Linked DNA regions of Homo sapiens: regions 1, 2, 3, 4, 5 and 6 are each linked to region 7. The links are contacts of gene promoters, found by promoter capture Hi-C in blood cells and fetal thymus (Javierre and others, 2016). All regions are on one chromosome and are shown on one strand. The core of a region is centred on a gene start or on the middle of the fragment in contact, and the rest is flanking DNA. Distances in the headings are between cores, read along the strand shown. Region 1 overlaps ADNP2 (ADNP homeobox 2). Region 2 overlaps PARD6G (par-6 family cell polarity regulator gamma). Region 3 has its middle 2.3 kb from the start of TXNL4A. Region 4 has its middle 14 kb from the start of RBFA. Region 5 overlaps ADNP2 (ADNP homeobox 2). Region 6 overlaps RBFA (ribosome binding factor A). Region 7 holds the start of NFATC1 (nuclear factor of activated T cells 1).

Region 1 (2,700 bases), core at 172-2,671, 720 kb after region 7:
CAATAATTGATATACAGATGTTGACTTTAACATTACTTTTCATCTGCCGTTGCTGGTTGCATTGAAATAGATTCCGTTTACAAAATTTCTACTACAGTTGACTTTGGAATGTTAATTTTAACTGCCCTTTTAAATACTGTACAGATGCAGAATGAGAAATAATTAGATATTTTAAGTAGTTTATTTGAACAGAAGACTTGCCTGCGTGCTTAAAACTTACTCTATTTGCACGGGTAATCACTGCCTCTTGGGATCTTGAGGAATATACTGGCTGTGGAGGAGTGGGGTGGGGGAGGAGAAACTGGTAAGCAGGTAACTGACAATGCAGATTGGCAAGTGGGGCAGCAGTTTGTAGAGTACTGTGGGCATCTGCCACGCAGAGCCTTTATCAAAAGAGGGGGTTTGGAGTCTGGGTACCATTTTTGGGGGTGAGGAGCATTAGTGGGAGAGAGGACCACATGTAAAAAGAGTTGTGTAAAGTACATGTTCAGCTGTATTTGGAAGTCGGTAATGTATGTGTAACTTATTTAAAGATGTTCTTGGAGAGTTGGCCATGTATGAGTGTGTATTAATATTTCGGTTAAATTTCGGTTGGAGTTAGGACTTCACTGCGAAGACAGCATTGAGCCCGTCGTCCTTAAACATGAAGTGACAGATGTGTGTTAAGAAAGGAAGTACAAGAGTGAAGATGAGACAAGAGGTTGTCCTACCGGCCCTCTAGTTGAGGGGAGGAACAGTGAGGGTTAGGACATGTCTGAAAGGAGTTGATCACTGTTTATGGGGGAAGATGACAGCTATGCTAAGATTTTTAGCTGAAGAGATTCTGGGATTTGGGAGACACGTTTTTAATTTGAACCCAAGTTTGCAATATGCTGTTGGTTAATTTATGATTGCCCTCATAAGTTCACCAATAGCATATTGCAAACTTGGTTTCTGCCCTGCCCTTCATCCTCTGGCTATCCTAGACCTGTTAGGGCAATGTGTTACATAGGTGGAAACCGGTATCTCCCAGTGATTTGAACCCAGATCTGCTGAATATATGATCCAAGTATTCTGTGTTTTTAAAGTTGCTTTTTAAAAAGTCCTGTATTCCAATAGTTGGGACATTTCATTTAGTTTTTTGGAGTTAATTAATAGCAAACTCAGTGCTTATGTGCTGTTTTGCATGTATTAACTCATTTATCCTCATAACTACTCTGTGAATTAGGTCATACTCGCCCTGTTTTACAGAAGAGCCAGCTGAGGCCTGGAGAGAGTAAGTGATTTCCTGAAGATTACACAGCTCATAAATGGTGGAGCTGATGTAAACCCGGGCACACAACTCCAGAATCCTTTTTGGTGACCATCGTTTTGTGCGATTTCACAGGAACTAAAAAAAAGTTCTGTGGCTTAAAAAGTATTGTTTATTACTGTATTACCTGAATGACATTTTTTTTTTTTTTTTTTGAGACGGAGTTTTGCCCTGTCGCCCAGGCTGGAGTGCAGTGGTGTGATCTCGGCTCACTGCAACCTCTGTCTCCCGGGTTCAAGCGATTCTCCTGCCTCAGCGTCCCGAGTAGGACCCAGCCAATTTTTTGGTAATTTTTAGTAGAGACAGGGTTTCACCATATTGGTCAGGCTGGTCTCCAACTCCTGACCTCAGGTGATCTGCCCGCCTTAGCCTTCCAAAGTGCTGGGATTACAGGTGTGAGCCGTTGCACCCGGCCAACATTTTCTTTTAGAATGTATTTTTTTTTCTATAATAGAATATCCTTACGAGATCATTATACTAAAAAATCCCCAGAGAAGTCCTTTATGTACCCTTTTGGGAAATAATATTTTCTTGTGCATATCAGTGGAATTTTATGGTAGTTCCATGCCTACCCTAAACATTAGGAATTGAGATTTATTTTGAATTGAAATTGATAGGTTGGTGCATGATGTGGAAATAGTTGGCCGCCCCGGTTAGCCTGCTGTTTTCTAATGGTGAAAATACAGATTTTACTGAGCTCTAAGATTCTATGGAGAACAGTATCTATAGAGGATCTATAAATATGAAAACATTGAACTATTTCATAGTTAATTCATCCACTGGGCATTTTACATGGAATATTTTATCTTAGGATTGATAAATTATGCTATAAGAATGGATCTAAGAATGAATAAATTGTGGTAGCTTAGAATGGATAAATTATGGGTAAAAGTCAGCTTCCCATCCCCAAAGTGGTTGGCAACAGTTATGAAACCTGTAATTTACTTGCATTTTATTTTTTATCCTTTGTTGGTTTCCCTAAAGCAGTTAGGAAACTGCTAAACAAAAAAAAAAAGGAGGGGGGAACTTTTCCCCCTCCTTTTTTTAAATGAAAAGGTATTTGTGTGCTTGTGTTTTGTTTTGTTTAGAAGGGCCACAATAACGATGAAGGAATGGAAGCACTTTCATTTGAGAATAAAAAGTTCCTATTTTTCAAATTCAAGGGAAAAAAATAAAAAAGTGACAACTCCTTGGCCCTAGTCCCAAGCCTTGAACAAGTAACCACAGACCCCTGCCCAATCTCTGAGAGCCTCATTTTAGTAACCCCTTTCTGAGGTTCATGTATGTACAACCATGCTTACATGAATCAGCCAATCCCCAATCACTCTGCTTTTAAAAGTCCACCAGTCTTTGTATCCCAGGCTTCTCAAAACTCTGTGATAAGATCAGCTCTGGCTGTGTGAGTTGAG
Region 2 (2,873 bases), core at 9-2,508, 760 kb after region 7:
TCTGGAATTCATCTCCATGGTTGTACATGGACAGGTTTGGGTGTATTTTTTTTTTTTCCCGAGACAGAGTCTTGCTCTGTCACCCAGGCTGGAGTGCAGTGGTGCGATCTCAGCTCACTGCAACCTCTGCCTCCCGGGTTCAAGCGATTCTCCTGCCTCAGCCTCCCAAGGTAGCTGGGATTACAGGCGCCTGCCACCACACCTGGCTAATTTTTATATTTTTAGTAGAGACAGGGTTTCACCATGTTGGCCATGCTGGTCTCGACCTCCTGACCTCGTGATCAGCCCACGTAGGCCTCCCAAAGTGCTGGGATTACAGACGTGAGCCACTGCACCTGGCTGCATTCGTTATTAAAAACCAGCCTCTTGTCACGTACATCAGCACAGTCGGCCTCGCCTGCAAGTCAGCAGAGAGCACAGCAAGAATGCTGAGATATGTTGCATGGGCCAACTTACTTAAAAACATGAATTTGACTATTTTAAAAAAGTAATTTTAAAGCTTCACTTTAAAAACAAAGTATTTGTAAAAATTTTAAAAAGCATTTTTTTGCACTTGGTCAGATCTTTTCTATCACTTTGCAAAGGCGCCAAGACCTGCACTCAGGCCTGGTATAGAGTGTCTCTACAGGCGTTCATTTTAAGTTCTGTGGCGAAATTCTATAAAAATAGGCAATACTTGTGTTTTTATATCCGGAAGTTGAAACAAAGAGCAGCGTTGTTTTTGTGGTCACAAAAACAACAAAAAATGAGCGGATGCAGTCTGCAGGTCCTGTCCCTGTCCTTACCGGGGAACTGGAGCTAGGATTTGGGGGCCTCTCGGGAGTCTAGAGCGTGACCGCGGGCCCGTGCTCCTCCACGCCGCCTGGCGGCAGCGCCAGGCTGTGACGGGGGTCGGCCCGCAGGGAGCTGAGCAGCCGCTGGAGGCCGCCGTCCAGGGCCAGGTCCCGCTGCAGCCGCTGCGCCAGGCCCGCGCCATTGACCCGGGAGAGGCTGCCTGCGGGCGCGCCCGGGGTCTGGGGGGGACGTGCAGGCTCCAGTGTGCCCTCGATGACGACGTCGTTGTCCTCATCGCTCTCCGCCTCGTCGGGGTGGAAGTTCTGCAGGACGCGCGGGGCGGGGGGACCCACGAAGCCCGCGGTGCCGTCCGAGGGCGGTCCCGAGCTGCCCAACGCGCGGCCGCCGCGCACCACGTTGTTGCGCTGGTTGGCGGGCTTGACGGTGACGATGAGGTTGTGGCTGTTGGCGATCATCATGTCCGTGACCTGGTCCAGCGTCTTCCCGGCCACCTCAATGCCGTTCACCTCCAGGACCTCGTCATTCACAGCCAGCAGCCCGGTGCTCTCCGCCAGGCCCCCGGGTACCATGCGCGAGATGAAGATGCCGGGCACCTTCTCCAGCCCGTGCGGGGTCACGCGCACGCTGGCGCCATCGCGGATGTAGAAGCCCAGCGGCTTCTCGCAGCCGTGCCGGTGCAGCCGCACTCGCCGGTGCGTCTCGGGGACCAGGTCCACATCGATGATGGATGATACGGGGCGGAAGTCGCGCGGGAGGCCGATGTCCAGGTGTGCACGCCGCCGGGGTCCTTCATCACGCAGCGCGCCCAGCGCCCGCCTCCGCCTGCACAGCGAGCCCGCGCCGAGGCTGCCACGCTCGGCCTCCTCTGCGGGAGAGGGGACAGTTAGAGGGGACACACAACCGAGCCCCGCCTGAGCCCTCGGCCGTCATACACCTGGCACTGCTGTTCCATCTGCGTGACGCCGAAGCACCCAGGGTGCACAGGAGCATTCCAGACCTGCAGGCTGAGCTGAAATCAGGCAAGCTCAAGTGCAGCCCCTAAAATTAACTCTCTAGCACTCTCCTTACAGCTCCACAGGCACCAAACCAAAGAACTCAGAGATTAAAAGGTGCTAGCAGGCAGCTGCAGCAGAGAGAATCAATGGCAGTGGAGGGTTTAGGGCTTGGAGGGCTGGCGAGTGCCTCAGCCTTCTGGGAGGCAGCAGGCTGGACTGGGGACTTCTTAAGCTTTGCCCATTCTCCCATATTTCCTTCTCTCAACTGTAAGACGGAGGCTCGTTTTTTTCTAAGGTTAATTACAACTAAGAGAGACCTTTCCTGCTTTCTTCTTTTCTATGCGCAAGCCCCACCACAGTGTCTTCTAGCCAGCATTCAAGGCCCCTGAATGTGTCACTCAGTCGGGCGTGTGAGCATTTCCCTGCGTTTTTGGTTAGCAGCTGATGAGGGGAGATGAGTAGAGGAAGGAGTGGGATCAGAGGATGGCTGCTTCCCTTCTGTGAGGTCCCGCACAGTCAGTGCTATTTGTAGGCACATGGAGCCTCAAGGCTCACCAATATGCCCAGCCTCCCATGGGGGCTGTGCAGCTCTCTTCCTCAGGTCTCCCAGGGACCCTGTGGGATCCGCCTGCCCACACCTGCCAGCCTGTGGCATGACACATTTGTGGCAGTGTGTAAACTTTACCCTAAAGTTGGGCTACTGCAAAATAAAATGAAAGTCCACTGAATTAATCAAGCAGAAACGTAAGGAGCTTAGTCTAAAGTAAAAATTTTAAGTGAAGAGACTGGTGGCATTTGGAAACTCTGAATAATGCATTTTCCTCATGTCAGAAAAAAAATCTTGTTTCATTAATTTTTATATGAAACCTCTTGTTCTTGACACACACGACTCTGTAAGACAGGCGTCTCGGGGAGCAGAGGGAAGGGCTTGCTCTGTGAGGCTTGGTCCTGTGGAGTTGGTGGCATCCACAGCAGCCTGCTCTTTGGGCTGGGGAGGCTCACATCTTTGCTTTGCCAGTGAAAGCCAGTAGGACCGGGAGCCCAGGCAGAAGCAATGCCATAAACAGGCGCTCCTCAGAGCAG
Region 3 (2,700 bases), core at 139-2,638, 590 kb after region 7:
TTTCTCAAAGAGAAATAAGTTAATATTTCTCTTTTTAAAATAAAACCTCTAACCTCTGTTCTTCTGAGAGAGCACTTTGGGTTCATGCTGGAGACTCCCTGGTTTGCAAACTGATATTGATAGTAAAACTCTTGTCTACTATCTAGCTATCCTGGTGGTCCTTTAGATGACAAATTTAAAACAAATCACGCCCGGGCGCGGTGGCTCACGCCTGTAATCCCAGCACTTTGGGAGGCCGAGGCCGGCGGATCGCCTATGGTCGGGAGTTCAAGACCAGTCTGGCCAACATGGTGAAACCCCGTCTCTACTAAAAATACAAAAAATTACCCGGGCATGGTGGCGCCCGCCTATAATCCCAGCTACTAGGGAGGCTGAGGCAGGAGAATCGCTTGAACCCAGGGGGTGGAGGTTGCAGTGAGCTGAGATCGCACCACTTCACTCCAGCCTGGGTGACAGAGTGAGACTCCATCTCAAAAACAACAACAAATCACTATGCAGATGCTGTGGTGTCTCTCAGATGGGCTGTGGCATGGTGAGAACTACAGTCTGAAGAGCCTGCTGGCATGGGGATTGAAATGGGTTCCATGTTTGGTTTCCTCTGGGACACAGCACCATAAGGTGCTTTGATAATATGCACCCACAATTTAAATACTAGAATCACAAGTGCAGCTCACTGCCAGATTAAGCTTTTTACATAATACAGAATATTTCCCAATTATATACGAAATGCTTTATTGTAATGAAACAATTTCAGGTTGGTAGGATATTAGAGATCATCTAAATCTCTTTCATTTTATAATTGAGTAAAGCAGAGGCACAGAATATAAGCATAGTGGTTAACAGTGAGGGTTTTAGTTACATAAAGGCGTGTTCAGGTTCATCTGTGCCTTGCATAAGTTATCTCAACAAACTTCAGTTTCCTCATCCATGAGATGGGATGATAAAACAAAATCTCCTGTACTTCATTGGCACCAGGTACACACTGGAGAAATCTGAGCCCTTACTAAGGTCAGGCTATTGCCTTCTAAAAAATTCCTTACCGTCATTTTGGTAGTCACTCATTTCAGATACAAACACAGTTGCTTAACACATCACAAGCATTTTATTCACAGGAGAGTTGTTCCAAGCTAAGGCATAAGACTCAAATGTCCCCAAATAATTTATTGAAACTCATTTTTTATTGTGTTACTTATAACAAGATTTATCGCCTTAATTTTTAAGGACATTAAGTACATTCATATTATGCAACCATCACCACTATCCATCTCCAGATAAATCTTTTCTTTAATAAAAACTTTTGGCCGGGCGCGGTGGCTCACGCCTGTAATCCCAGCACTTTGGGAGGCCGAGGCGGGCGGATCACGAGGTCAGGAGATCGAGACCATCCTGGCTAACACGGTGAAACCCCGTCTCTACTAAAAATACAAAAAAAAAATTAGCCGGGCGCGGTGGCGGGCGCCTGTAGTCCCAGCTACTCGGGAGGCTGAGGCAGGAGAATGGCGTGAACCCGGGAGGCGGAGCTTGCAGTGAGCCGAGATTGTACCACTGCACTCCAGCCTGGGCGACAGAGCCAGACTCCGTCTCAAAAAAAAAAAAAAAAAAAAACTTTTGTTGAGATCTAATCCATATACTATAAAATTCACCAATTGAAGGTGAGATGGTTTTTCAGTGTTGTGGAACCAATACCACAATCTAATTTTAGGAGAATGTTATCACCCCGAAAAGAAAACCTATACCCATTAACAGTCATTTCCCATTTCCCTCCCATTCCCTCAGCCCCTGGCAATCACTAATCTATTTTCTGCCTCTATAGATTTACCTATTCTAGACATTTCATATAGATGGAAACACAAAATATGGAGTCGTTTGTGACTGCTTTCATTTAACATAATGTTCTCAAGGTCCATATTGTAGCAGACATCAACAGCTAGTTCTTTTTAATTGCTGATGAATATTTCATTAAATAAAACAAAAAATTAGAAACTATTCCATTATATGGATATACTACATTTTATCCATCAGTTGATTGACATTTGGGTTGTTTGCATTTTTTTACTATTATGAGTAATGCTGCTATGAACATTCATGTACAAGCTTTTGTGTGGACTTAAGTTTTCATGTGGTAACTGTTTAACATTTTTAAGTATTGCTAAATTGTTTTCCAAATTGGCTACACCATTTTACATTCTCACCAGGAATGTGTGAGGGTTTCAGTTTTTCCACATTCTTGCCCATGCTTGTTATTTATGTACCTCGTGAACCCCAAAAATCTGAGACAGGTCTCAATTAATTTAGAAAGTTTATTTTTCCAAGGTTGAGGATGCATCCATGACACTGCCTCAGGAGGTCCTGATGATATGTGCCCGAGGTGGTCGGGGCACAGCTTAGTTTTATACATTTTAGGGAGGCATGAGACATCAATCAATATATGTAAGAAGAACATTGGTTCAGTCTGGAAAGGCGGGACAACTTGAAGCAAGGACAGGAAGACTCAAAGCGGGAAGGGGGCTTCCAGGTCACAGATATGTGAGAGATGAACAGTTGCATTCTTGTGAGTTTCTGATCAGCCTTTCCAAAGGAGACAGTCAGCTGTGCATCTGTCTCAGTGAGCAGAGGGATGACTGACTAGAATGGGAGGCAGGTTGAAGGGACCCAAGATACTTTCCTTTCACAGCCTTGTATTATGGTCATACTGGTAGG
Region 4 (2,700 bases), core at 151-2,650, 620 kb after region 7:
CAAGCCTCTAGGAAGTTCCAAACTTTCCTACACTTTCCTGTCTTCTCTTGAGCCCTTCAAACTTTTCCAATCTCTGCCTGTTACCTAGTTCCAAAGTCACTTCTGCATTTTCGGATATCTTCTCAGCAACACCCGACTCTACTGGTACCAATGTACTGCATTAGTTTGTTTTCATGCTGCTGATAAAGACATACCTGAAACTAGGAACAAGAAAAGGTTTAATTGGACTTATTTCCAAATGGCTGGGGAGGTCTCAAAATCATGGTGGGAGGTGAAAGGCACTTCTTACATGGTGGCAGCAAGAGAAAATGAGGAAGAAGCAAAAGCAAAAACCCCTGATAAACCCATCAGGTCTCAAGAGAATTTATCATGAGAACAGCACAGGAAAGACTGGTTCCCATGATTCAAGTACCTCCCCCTGGGTCCCTCCCACAACACATGGGAATTCTGGGAGATAAAATTCAAGTTGAGATTTTGGTGGGGACACAGCCAAACCATATCAAGGACCATGTGTTATTTATTACCTGATAATAAGGTTGGCAAGGGGTGGCATTTCTGCCCAGGGATAGCTATTCCCATTGGGAATTCCACCTAGGAGGTCTGGCTAGATTAAAATTTTTCTATAGTCTCTCCCAGTTTGGTGTCACCCTTGTTCCTTCTTAGTCTCCAGATCTCTGTACTCTTAGCAATTATGAGCATACTTTTGGAATATTTAAAGGTTTCCCAAGTATGGTTCTTTTCCTCTGCTTTTAAAGCAGAAGAAGGCATTTGCTATCTTATTAACTTTACCTAGTCTAAAGGAGTAAGTCTTACCCTCAGGGTGTGTGTTTTTTTGCGTAGCGTTAAAAATGCTCCCATACCATGCTTTATTTATATCCATTTTTAATGGTTAAAGGTAAAGCCAGCAGAGGGAACCCCAAGATAGTGATATGGTTTGGCTGTGTCCCCACCCAAATCTCATCTTGAATTGTAACTCCCACAATTCCCTTGTGTTGTGGGAGGAACCCGGTGAAAGGTGATTGAATTGTGGGGGCGGGTCTTTCCTGCACTGTTCTCATGATAGTGAATGAGTCTCAGGAAATCTGATGGCTTTAAAAACGGGAGTTTGCCAGCACAGGCTCTCTCTTTGCCCACCACCATCCACGTAAGATGTGACTTCCTCCTCCTATTTCCTTGAGGTTTTTTTGGCTGCATAGATTTGCACCACCATTTGTTTACACTCCTGTTCAGGTTCTCCAGTTTCCTCTGGGAGGAAAGTGGCTGGGTTCAGGCCAGGACAGGTCTTTAACTGAACTGCAGGTTTTTCCAGCAGCAAAGCTTGATATTTGAGGAGGTGATTACCTGTTAGCCACAGACTTCCTTTAGAGGATAGCAGTGCTGCTACATTATGGGGTGTGTAAACAGTTAACTTATTCCTCATGGCTAACTCAACCATGCAACTGCAACTGCTCAGAGGCAAGCTGGCCATTTTTTAGCCACCAAGTTAAGCTTTTTGCTTAGGTAACCAAATGGCTGCTGGGGTGGACCTTGAGCCTAAGTTAAAACTCCCAAGGCTATTCCCTTTCTTTTTGAGACATAAAGATTAAACGCCTTCCCTATGGGAAGACTGAGCGTAGGTGCTTTAAGTCAGGCTTTAGCTGATTAAAGGCCTTCTGAGCCTCAGGTTTTTAAGTTAGGGAGTGAGTTTATAGCTGATTGAGTTTATTTTATAAGGCAGTATAAAGGGCAAGCCATTTTACTGTACCCAGGTATTTACAATTTACAAAAACCTGTAATGCCCAAAAATCCTCTTAGCTGTTTGAGTGTTCCAGGGAGGAGAAATGGGGAAATAGTCTTAATTATCTTCTCACCTAATGTTTTGGTTCTTTCTGACAAGACTAGACCAAGGTACCTCACTGAAGTTTGACAGAGCTGAGCATTAGATTTGGAAACTTTATATCCTCTACCTGCTAGAAAATAAAGAGCGTTAGTGCCTTCTTGAGAAACCCCCTCAGTTGGGGCACAGAGGATAATATTATATACATATTGTAAAACTTTAACCTGAGGATGAGAAAACTCAGAGAGATTTTTTGATAATGCTTGCCCAAACAGGTGGGCACTGTTTTGGACTCCCTGAGGCAGCACTGTACAGGTTAACTAGTTAGCCTGGTTGGAGGGATCTTTTTTTTTTTTGAGATGGAGTCTTGCTCTGTTGCCCAGGCTGGACTACAGTGCCATGATCTCAGCTCACTGCAAGCTCCACCTCCCAGGTTCATGCCATTCTCCTGCCTCAGCCTCCCGAGTAGCTGGGACTATGGGCACCCGCCACCATGCCTGGCTAATTTTTTGTATTTTTTAGTGGAGACGGGGTTTCACTGTGTTAGCCAGGATGGTCTTGATCTCCTGACCTCGTGATCTGCCCCCCTCGGCCTCCCAAAGTGCTGGGATTACAGGCATGAGCCACTGCCCCTGGCTGGTTGGAGGGACTTTCTTAAAGCAAACAAGTATTGGGAGTTAGGGTGCAATGGTATGCAGAAAAAGGCACTTGTTAGGTTTAAAACTGAATCATTTAGTTCCCTCAGGTATTTGAGTTAGCAAAGTATACGGATTAGGAACCACTGGATGGATTGGAACTATAGCTTTATTAACAAGATGGAGGTTCTGAACTAGCCTGCATTTCCCACTGGGTTTCTGTACCCCTAATATTGGGGTGTTGCAATG
Region 5 (2,716 bases), core at 120-2,619, 740 kb after region 7:
CCAGTTACTCAGGAGGCTGAGGCAGGAGAATCGCTTGAACCGGGATGGCGTAGGTTGCAGTGAGCTGAGATCACGCCACTGCACTCCAGCCTCAGTAACAGAGTGAGACTCTGTCAAAAAAAACAAAAAACTGAAGAATGGAAGAGTGTGTGTGTGTGTGTGTGTGTGTGTGTGTGTGAGAGAGAGTGATAATGAGCACACAGATTTAGGAAAGGATGAGAATTAACCCTTGATCACTGTGGTAGTACCACAGCCAGCTCTGGGGCTTTAGATGAAGCTAGGTCTTAGCTTCCTTGTTTGTGGAACTGGGGAGCAGGTGTTTTGTGTTTCACCAGCTCTGGGTTCTCAAGACTCTGTCATGAGACCAAAGATTTCACTGTGCTCTCAAGTTATTGCAAACCAGCAAGTCTTACTAGATGTTAGAACAGATTGCATCCTGTTGTATGAATATGCTTTTAGGCCGCGAACTTGTTAAATTTCCCAAAATGTGCTTTAAATAGAAATCCCATATGGTCAGTGTTGCGTTCTGTGGCCTTACCCTTATCTTAGGGTCATCCATAGTGTGAGTTTAGGCTTAGTCTCACTTTCTTTACTGTTTTATCAGATAGTTTATTGGGTACCTGCATGGGCCAAACACTGTCCATTTGGCTCCTACCTTCTCTAGAAATAGAGGAAGTAGAAAGATAGTAATGATGGGTTTAACATTTTGAAAGCTAGGTTAGTTATGGATAAATTCCAGAGGTTTTAGAATTTGGAGCAAAAACAACATTGGAATTAAGAGAAATGGGATGAGGGGGAGAAAATAACTTTCTTTTGTAGAAAATTAATGAAGCTTTTAAAATTGATGCTGTTATTAATAATTCAGAATACAGGACTAAGTAATTATATTTGTGGTTTTAGTGGATGACTTAGAACAGGGGTCAGCAAACTATGAGTTGTGAGCCAAATCCTATATTTGTATGAATTAGCCCGTGAGCCATGAGCTAGGAGTGGTTGTTAGGCTTTTAAATGTTTAAGAAAAAAATGACAATACTATTTTGTGACATGTGGAAAGTATATGAAATTCAAATTGGTGTTTGTAAATAAAGTTTTATTGGAACATAAATTACAAATTATTTTGGGGACTTTTGTACAACAATGGCAGTGCTGAGTAGTTGCCACAGAGACTGTACTGTATGGCCCACAGTCCTAACATAATCACTCTCTGGCCCTTCACAGAAAAAGTTTGCCAACCCCTGGGTTAGAAAACATTAAGTCAGGTTAAATGCCTAGCACATTAGAAGAAAAGGGATCAAGTCCTCAGGGACTGTGGAAGGTTAGCATCTGACAGTTTATTCAATTATGCTTAAGGCTTTCTTTTCTTTTAACAGAGATATCGAACAAAGCCATACTGTTGTGGCCTCTGTAAATACTCTACAAAGGTGCTTACTTCATTCAAGAATCATTTACATCGTTACCATGAAGATGAAATTGACCAAGAGCTGGTGATCCCTTGCCCAAACTGTGTATTTGCATCTCAGCCCAAAGTTGTGGGAAGGCACTTCAGAATGTTCCATGCACCTGTCCGGAAAGTCCAGAACTACACAGTGAATATTTTAGGTGAAACTAAATCATCTAGGAGCGATGTGATAAGTTTCACATGTCTAAAATGTAACTTTTCAAACACTTTGTACTACAGCATGAAGAAGCATGTGCTGGTAGCCCATTTTCACTACTTAATTAACTCCTACTTTGGCCTAAGAACTGAGGAAATGGGTGAGCAACCGAAAACTAACGATACTGTTTCTATAGAGAAGATCCCACCACCTGACAAATATTACTGTAAAAAGTGCAACGCCAATGCCAGCAGCCAGGATGCGTTAATGTATCACATTTTGACATCAGACATACACAGAGATTTGGAGAATAAGCTTAGATCTGTGATTTCAGAACATATTAAGAGGACTGGACTCTTGAAGCAAACGCACATTGCTCCAAAACCAGCAGCACATTTGGCTGCACCAGCAAATGGCAGTGCTCCAAGCGCTCCAGCGCAGCCTCCTTGCTTCCATCTTGCTTTGCCACAGAACAGTCCAAGCCCAGCCGCAGGACAGCCAGTGACTGTGGCCCAGGGTGCCCCTGGAAGCCTCACTCATTCCCCCCCTGCTGCTGGCCAATCCCACATGACTCTGGTCTCCAGCCCTCTGCCTGTGGGCCAGAACAGCCTCACCCTGCAGCCCCCAGCACCTCAGCCCGTCTTTCTTTCTCACGGGGTTCCACTTCATCAGTCTGTGAATCCTCCTGTGTTGCCCTTGAGTCAGCCAGTCGGACCTGTCAATAAGTCTGTTGGAACTAGTGTCCTCCCCATAAATCAGACTGTTCGCCCTGGGGTTTTACCCCTCACCCAGCCTGTGGGACCCATAAACAGACCTGTTGGGCCTGGTGTTCTTCCTGTGAGCCCCTCTGTCACCCCTGGGGTCCTGCAGGCTGTCTCGCCAGGGGTGCTTTCTGTGAGTCGGGCGGTCCCGTCTGGAGTCCTTCCTGCAGGCCAGATGACTCCTGCAGGCCAGATGACTCCTGCAGGGGTTATCCCTGGGCAAACAGCAACTTCTGGGGTTCTTCCTACTGGCCAGATGGTCCAGTCAGGAGTTCTCCCTGTGGGCCAGACAGCTCCGTCACGGGTTCTTCCCCCAGGCCAGACAGCCCCATTGAGGGTTATCTCTGCAGGCCAGGTGGT
Region 6 (2,700 bases), core at 78-2,577, 650 kb after region 7:
TGTTGAATTTTTGTGACAAAGAAGATCCATACTTTTCTCATGGCTGTTAAATTCTGTCTTTTCCAACACATAACTGGGAGGCCTGAATTTTTTTTTTTTTTTTTTTGCTTTTTTTGAGACAGGATCTCATTCTGTCTCCCAGGCTGGAGTGCAGAGACACAATCTTGGCTCCTGCAGCCTCAACCTCCCAGGCTCAAGTGATCTTCCTGCCTCAGCTTCCCATACAGCTGGAAGCACAGGTGCATGCCACCACACTTGGCTAATTTTGTATTTTTTGTAGAGATAGGATCTCTCTATGTTGTCTAGGCTGGTCTCCAACTCCTGGGCTTAAGCGATCCTCTGGCCTGAGCCTCCCAAAGTGTTGAGATTACAGGCATGAGCTACTGCGCTGGCTCTTCTTGTATTTCAGTGAGAGGAAGGACAGAGTGCAGAAGCAGCAGTGAGATCCCAGCTGTCTTCCATGAAGCTGGCCTTGGAGAATTTGCAAATACATAAACAATTCCATGCTTTTCATTGATTTTGTGGGGGGGAGTGTATATATATATTTTTTGTTAAAAATGTCTATGTAAGCATTTAGTGGGTTTTTAAGCGACTTTAAAAAGACGTAGCTTTTAGAGTTCTCAGTTTTAGTTTGTAGTATAGTAAATATTGATAGATAGAACCCACATAAACAAATGCTCTTTGGGATCTTCAGTAATTTTTAAGAATGTAAAGGATCCTGGGACCAACAATTTTGGGAATTGCTGAGCTGGATGATAATAAAGAAATTATTCAGTTTCCTCCTCAGTTTTAAAAAATGCAGAAATCCAAATCCAGCTCACTGTCCAGCTCTCTCAGAACTGGAATTCCTCCTTTCTGCCTCCCTTCTCATCATGCCCCATGTTTAGGGTGGGGACAGACGTAGAAAAGGTGGCCGTGTGTGGGCTTCGTTCCAGGCACCCTGCCTGGCTTCCCTGCATCATTACCACACACGATGATGCCCAGGGGTCTGTGAAACTGCATATCAGAGAATGCTTATTTCTTACTGTTTAACAAAAGCAAGAAAATGAGAGATTATTGACAAGTGTTGAAACAGCATTGTTTTCTGATTTTTAGGTATCAGAAAATTCAGTTGAGCTGAATGTCCCTCTTCCCAACTCCTGCGGTCACCCAAGATTTAGGGTCACCGTTTTCCATAGCTGTGTACCAAAGATCTGTGGTCACGGCTTTCGCTGGTTATATGTGCCGTGCCTACATTGGCCCTAGGTCTGTATTATGTGATGTGCATGATACAAATATCACTTCTGTGTCTAATATCTGGGAACCTGAGGGTTGTGTCGTGCCAGGGCGTGTCCACTGGGCACAGGAGGACAGGCTGTTAGTGCACAGACCCTGGAGCCCAAGGCTACGGCGATGAGTTCAGATCAGGTTATTTGTACAGATCGCACAAGTTGCGTTGAGAAAAGTCAAGGCAATTGCAGTTATGATGCATTTTGCATCCCTTTTTTGATGTGGTAGTTGACTAAAGATGACTCTTCTGGGCTGAGGTTTTCATTTTTGAGTAATACGATAAATCTCACTCCTGCCTCTTTTTTTTTTTTTTCTTTTTTTTTGAGACCGAGTCTTGTTCTTTCACCCAGGCCGGAGTGTAGTGGCACTATCTTGGCTCACTGCAAGTTCCGCCTCCCGGGTTCAGGCCATTCTTCTGCCTCAGCCTCCCGAGTAGCTGGGACTACAGGTGCCTGCCGCCACGCCTGGCTAATTTTTTGTATTTTTAGTAGAGACGGGGTTTCACCATGTTAGCCAGGATGGTCTCGATCTCCTGACCTCGTGATCCGCCCGCCTCGGCCTCCCAAAGTGCTGGGATTACAGGCGTGAGCCACCGCGCCCGGCCTCTCACTCCTGCCTCTTGGTTACATCTTGAATCATATGTTCAGCACTGTCACGCCTCTCCACTGAGTGTCACGGCACAGCTGTGAGGGTCTGTGCGTTCTGTCTCCTAGGCACCTTTTGATGTCCCAGCAGACCCTGAGGAATGTGCCACCGATAGTGTTTGTTCAAGACAAGGGAAATGCAGCTCTAGCTGAGGTAAGGTTTTCAAAAAAACTTTTTAAAATTTAAAAATTTTTATTTTTTTAATTAGAGACAGAGTCTTGCTATATTGTCCAGGCTAGTCTTGAACTCCTGGCCTCAAGGGATCCTTCTGTCTCAGCCTCCCAAAGTGCTGGGATTTATAGGTGTGAGCCACCGGGCCCAGGTAATAATTAACTTTTTATAACATAAACGCTTATATGAATAAAGTTTTAAATTTAAGTTTTAAATCCTGAAAAGATAATGTACAGTTAAAAAAGAGAAGAGGCCAGGTGCAGTGGCTCAAGCCTGTAATCCCAGCACTTTGGGAGGCCGAGGCAGGTGGATCACAAGGTCAGGAGTTAGAGACTAGCCTGGCCAATACGGTGAAACCCTGTCTCTACTAAAAATACAAAAAAATTAGCTAGGTGTGGTGGCGTGCGCCCGTAGTCTCAGCTGCTCGGGAGGCTGAGGCAGAAGAATCAGTTGAACCGGGAAGGCGGAGGTTGCAGTGAGCCGAGATTGTGCCACTGCACTCCAGGCAGCAGAGTGAGAGACTCCGTGTCAAAAAAAAAAAAGAGAAGAAACCACTGAGAAGGGAACAAATGAAAAGTAATGAAAGAAAGGTGCAAATGAAAAGGCTGTCCCTTT
Region 7 (2,700 bases), core at 131-2,630:
AGGGGCCCCCGCAGGTAGAGACCCCTGGAAATGGCCTCGACGCCGCAGGAGCGAGGCGGCCACCACCCCGCTAATCCGGGCACGTCTCTCCAGGCCGAGGCCTGCGGTGGAAAAGCCGGGGTTCCATTTGTGCTGAGTCGGGGCGGCCGAATGGAGCCAGGCCTCGGGACGCGGGACGGACGGGCTCTGGCCGCGCACCTTCGCGGGCTCTGCAGCGCCCGACCGCCTCCCCCGGCAGGGAGGAGGCGCTTGTGGGGGGCACCCACGGGGCACAGTGATCCCTGGGGGTCTGCGGACCTCCTGGGCCCCGCAGCAGACACGAGTTTAGCCTTTGGGTTTAGTTTAAATCACATAAGGGTGTCGTGCAATCGATTTATGGTTTCTACACACCAGACACTTTAACCTCCAACCCCCCCCATCCAAAGCCAACAAGAAAATGCGGTGCCGTGTTGGCAGCTGAGCTGCGCCCGAAGAGACGCAGGGAGACGTAAGAGAGGAAAGTGTGAGTGGCCGGGGGGCCTCCCCCCGTCAGAAGTCGCGCAGTCGCGCCCATAAAACGCCCCCTCCGGGCGGCTAGGGCAGGTGAGCGCGTCCCCGGGCCTCCCCACGCCGGCCCCTGCCACAGGCCGTCTAGGTCGAGCAGATATTTACAGAATAAAAATGACAATAACTCGACGTCCCGGGACGGCCACGCAATCTGTTAGTAATTTAGCGGGATGGGAATTTCCTTTCTAGGGCCTGCCAGTGAAGCGCTTTTCCAAATTTCCACAGCGGGGGAAGCCTGCGATTTTACATAATGACTTCAGCATGCCGGGCTTTCTCGACACCCCTCCCCGGCCCCCGGCCCCCGCCCCCCGCCCCTTTTCCAGCAGGGCCGGGCTCCCTCCGGACACCCGCGTGGACTCAGGCGTCCCGTCTGGCCCGTTCGCCCCCGTTTCCCCCGCCAGCCCCAGCGCCCCCCTGCCCGGCCCCCGGATTCCCCGTTCCCGCCCCTACGCCCCCATCCCCTCCCCGTGCGCCCCTCCCCGTGCGCCCCCCTCCCCGTGCGCCCCCCCTCCCCGTGCGCCCCCCTCCCCGTGCGCCCCCCCTCCCCGGGCGCCCCCCTCCCCGGGCGCCCCCCCTCCCCGTGCGCCCCCCCCTCCCCGTGCGCCCCCCCTCCCCGTGCGCGCCCCGCCTCTTGCGCCCCTGCCCCCAGGCGAGCGGCTGCCGCGGCGCGGGGAGGGGCGGGCGCTCGGCGACTCGTCCCCGGGGCCCCGCGCGGGCCCGGGCAGCAGGGGCGTGATGTCACGGCAGGGAGGGGGCGCGGGAGCCGCCGGGCCGGCGGGGAGGCGGGGGAGGTGTTTTCCAGCTTTAAAAAGGCAGGAGGCAGAGCGCGGCCCTGCGTCAGAGCGAGACTCAGAGGCTCCGAACTCGCCGGCGGAGTCGCCGCGCCAGATCCCAGCAGCAGGGCGCGGGCACCGGGGCGCGGGCAGGGCTCGGAGCCACCGCGCAGGTCCTAGGGCCGCGGCCGGGCCCCGCCACGCGCGCACACGCCCCTCGATGACTTTCCTCCGGGGCGCGCGGCGCTGAGCCCGGGGCGAGGGCTGTCTTCCCGGAGACCCGACCCCGGCAGCGCGGGGCGGCCGCTTCTCCTGTGCCTCCGCCCGCCGCTCCACTCCCCGCCGCCGCCGCGCGGATGCCAAGCACCAGCTTTCCAGTCCCTTCCAAGTTTCCACTTGGCCCTGCGGCTGCGGTCTTCGGGAGAGGAGAAACTTTGGGGCCCGCGCCGCGCGCCGGCGGCACCATGAAGTCAGCGGAGGAAGGTAAGCCCCGCGCGGCCTCCGCCCCCGGACCCCTGCGCCCCCCACGGCCCGGGCCGCGCCCCCCGACCCCGCCCCCGTCGCCCGCACGGAGGGGTCCGGGCCAGAGAACGAGGTCGGCCGGGTCTGTGCGCCCAGGGAGGGGCGCGGCGCGGACCGGGAACGGCGTCCCCCAGCTCCCAGCAGCCCGGTTCCGAGCGCGCCTTCTGCCAATAGGTGTCTCCTCTGCCCCAGCGCTGAGGGCGCGAGGCGAGGCCGCCGCGGGTCCCGCCGAGGAAGCGGCTCGCAGGCCGGCGATTTGGGGACGGGCGAGGCTGGGCCGTCAGGACCACAGAGGGCACGTGGGAGGGAGGAAGGGAGGCTTCCTTGGGAGTGAAGGATGCCCCGTGTCTTCCTGAGCGAGGCAGAGCCACCCTCTGGCGCCAAGATCGCGGTTTGGGGGTTCTGCGCCCCCCACCCCCACCCCGAGCTCGTGGCGGCGTCTCCCTCGCGCCGCGCCCCTGAATTCCCCAGGGCCGAGCCCGTCACGCCGGCTCCTGGACCTGCAGGACCAAAAGATCCAAAGCGCGGCCGCAGCACAGCCCCGAATTTAAGCCATTTTGAAATCCTATAGGCAGGAGTTCCAGCCAGAGAAGATGTTTCAGGCAAGTTTGAAAAGGAACCGCCAAGTTTCGAGCTGCTTCTTTATAGTGAAAAAAAGATGGCACAGTGTGGGTCCCTGAAACCCGGTGTGGGGGGCGCTGAGACCCCCCTGCGGCGCATCTCACATTCCAGTCCCCCACCTTAGCCCGTCCCCGGCACACACCCCTGGCGATGCCGGGTGGGCTCCTGCAAGTGGCTTTGAAAATACCCTTGCAGAGGTGTGAGCATACGAGTTAGGGATTAGGGATTGCAATGCTAA

The links. Contacts are between HindIII fragments. The CHiCAGO score rates a contact against its expected background, and 5 or more counts as called.
Region 1: a fragment that was not itself captured here is called in contact with the fragment with the promoter of NFATC1 in region 7 in 5 of 17 cell types (fetal thymus, erythroblasts, monocytes and 2 more); the score reaches 11.4 in fetal thymus.
Region 2: a fragment that was not itself captured here is called in contact with the fragment with the promoter of NFATC1 in region 7 in 4 of 17 cell types (erythroblasts, monocytes, total B cells and 1 more); the score reaches 7.0 in erythroblasts.
Region 3: a fragment that was not itself captured here is called in contact with the fragment with the promoter of NFATC1 in region 7 in 4 of 17 cell types (monocytes, total CD4 T cells, M0 macrophages and 1 more); the score reaches 6.0 in monocytes.
Region 4: a fragment that was not itself captured here is called in contact with the fragment with the promoter of NFATC1 in region 7 in 5 of 17 cell types (naive B cells, monocytes, total CD8 T cells and 2 more); the score reaches 8.2 in naive B cells.
Region 5: a contact is called between a fragment that was not itself captured here and the fragment with the promoter of NFATC1 in region 7, in 1 of 17 cell types (monocytes). The highest score is 5.5, in monocytes.
Region 6: a fragment that was not itself captured here is called in contact with the fragment with the promoter of NFATC1 in region 7 in 1 of 17 cell types (naive B cells); the score reaches 5.3 in naive B cells.

The regions. Positions count from the first base shown.
Region 1 is chr18:80,110,139-80,112,838 of GRCh38, forward strand. All of the region lies in intron 1 of ADNP2 (ADNP homeobox 2), which reads left to right. Among named protein-coding and RNA genes, the nearest start is that of ADNP2, 2.2 kb to the left of the region's middle. The HindIII fragment of the contact is 3,157 bases long and covers 1-2,700 here.
Region 2 is chr18:80,158,947-80,161,819 of GRCh38, forward strand. PARD6G (par-6 family cell polarity regulator gamma) reads right to left here. Exons shown (of 3, transcript NM_032510.4): 3 at 1-1,660. The coding sequence ends at 825. The region is part of intron 1 of PARD6G-AS1 (PARD6G antisense RNA 1); the gene reads left to right. Among named protein-coding and RNA genes, the nearest start is that of PARD6G-AS1, 12 kb to the left of the region's middle. RefSeq lists a silencer at 804-873. The HindIII fragment of the contact is 1,523 bases long and covers 498-2,020 here.
Region 3 is chr18:79,989,524-79,992,223 of GRCh38, forward strand. It overlaps a transcript of TXNL4A not described here. Among named protein-coding and RNA genes, the nearest start is that of TXNL4A, 2.3 kb to the left of the region's middle. The HindIII fragment of the contact is 1,408 bases long and covers 685-2,092 here.
Region 4 is chr18:80,019,023-80,021,722 of GRCh38, forward strand. It overlaps a transcript of TXNL4A not described here. Among named protein-coding and RNA genes, the nearest start is that of RBFA, 14 kb to the right of the region's middle. The HindIII fragment of the contact is 171 bases long and covers 1,316-1,486 here.
Region 5 is chr18:80,134,242-80,136,957 of GRCh38, forward strand. It overlaps ADNP2 (ADNP homeobox 2), which reads left to right. Exons shown (of 4, transcript NM_014913.4): 4 at 1,371-2,716. Among named protein-coding and RNA genes, the nearest start is that of PARD6G-AS1, 12 kb to the right of the region's middle. The HindIII fragment of the contact is 1,078 bases long and covers 831-1,908 here.
Region 6 is chr18:80,040,153-80,042,852 of GRCh38, forward strand. RBFA (ribosome binding factor A) reads left to right here. Exons shown (of 7, transcript NM_024805.3): 5 at 1,983-2,067. Among named protein-coding and RNA genes, the nearest start is that of RBFA, 7.1 kb to the left of the region's middle. The HindIII fragment of the contact is 3,769 bases long and covers 1-2,700 here.
Region 7 is chr18:79,394,550-79,397,249 of GRCh38, forward strand. NFATC1 (nuclear factor of activated T cells 1) reads left to right here and starts at 1,381. Exons shown (of 10, transcript NM_001278669.2): 1 at 1,381-1,802. The coding sequence starts at 1,676. RefSeq lists enhancers at 12-131, 1,773-2,320 and silencers at 1,217-1,616, 1,977-2,076. The HindIII fragment of the contact is 8,960 bases long and covers 1-2,700 here.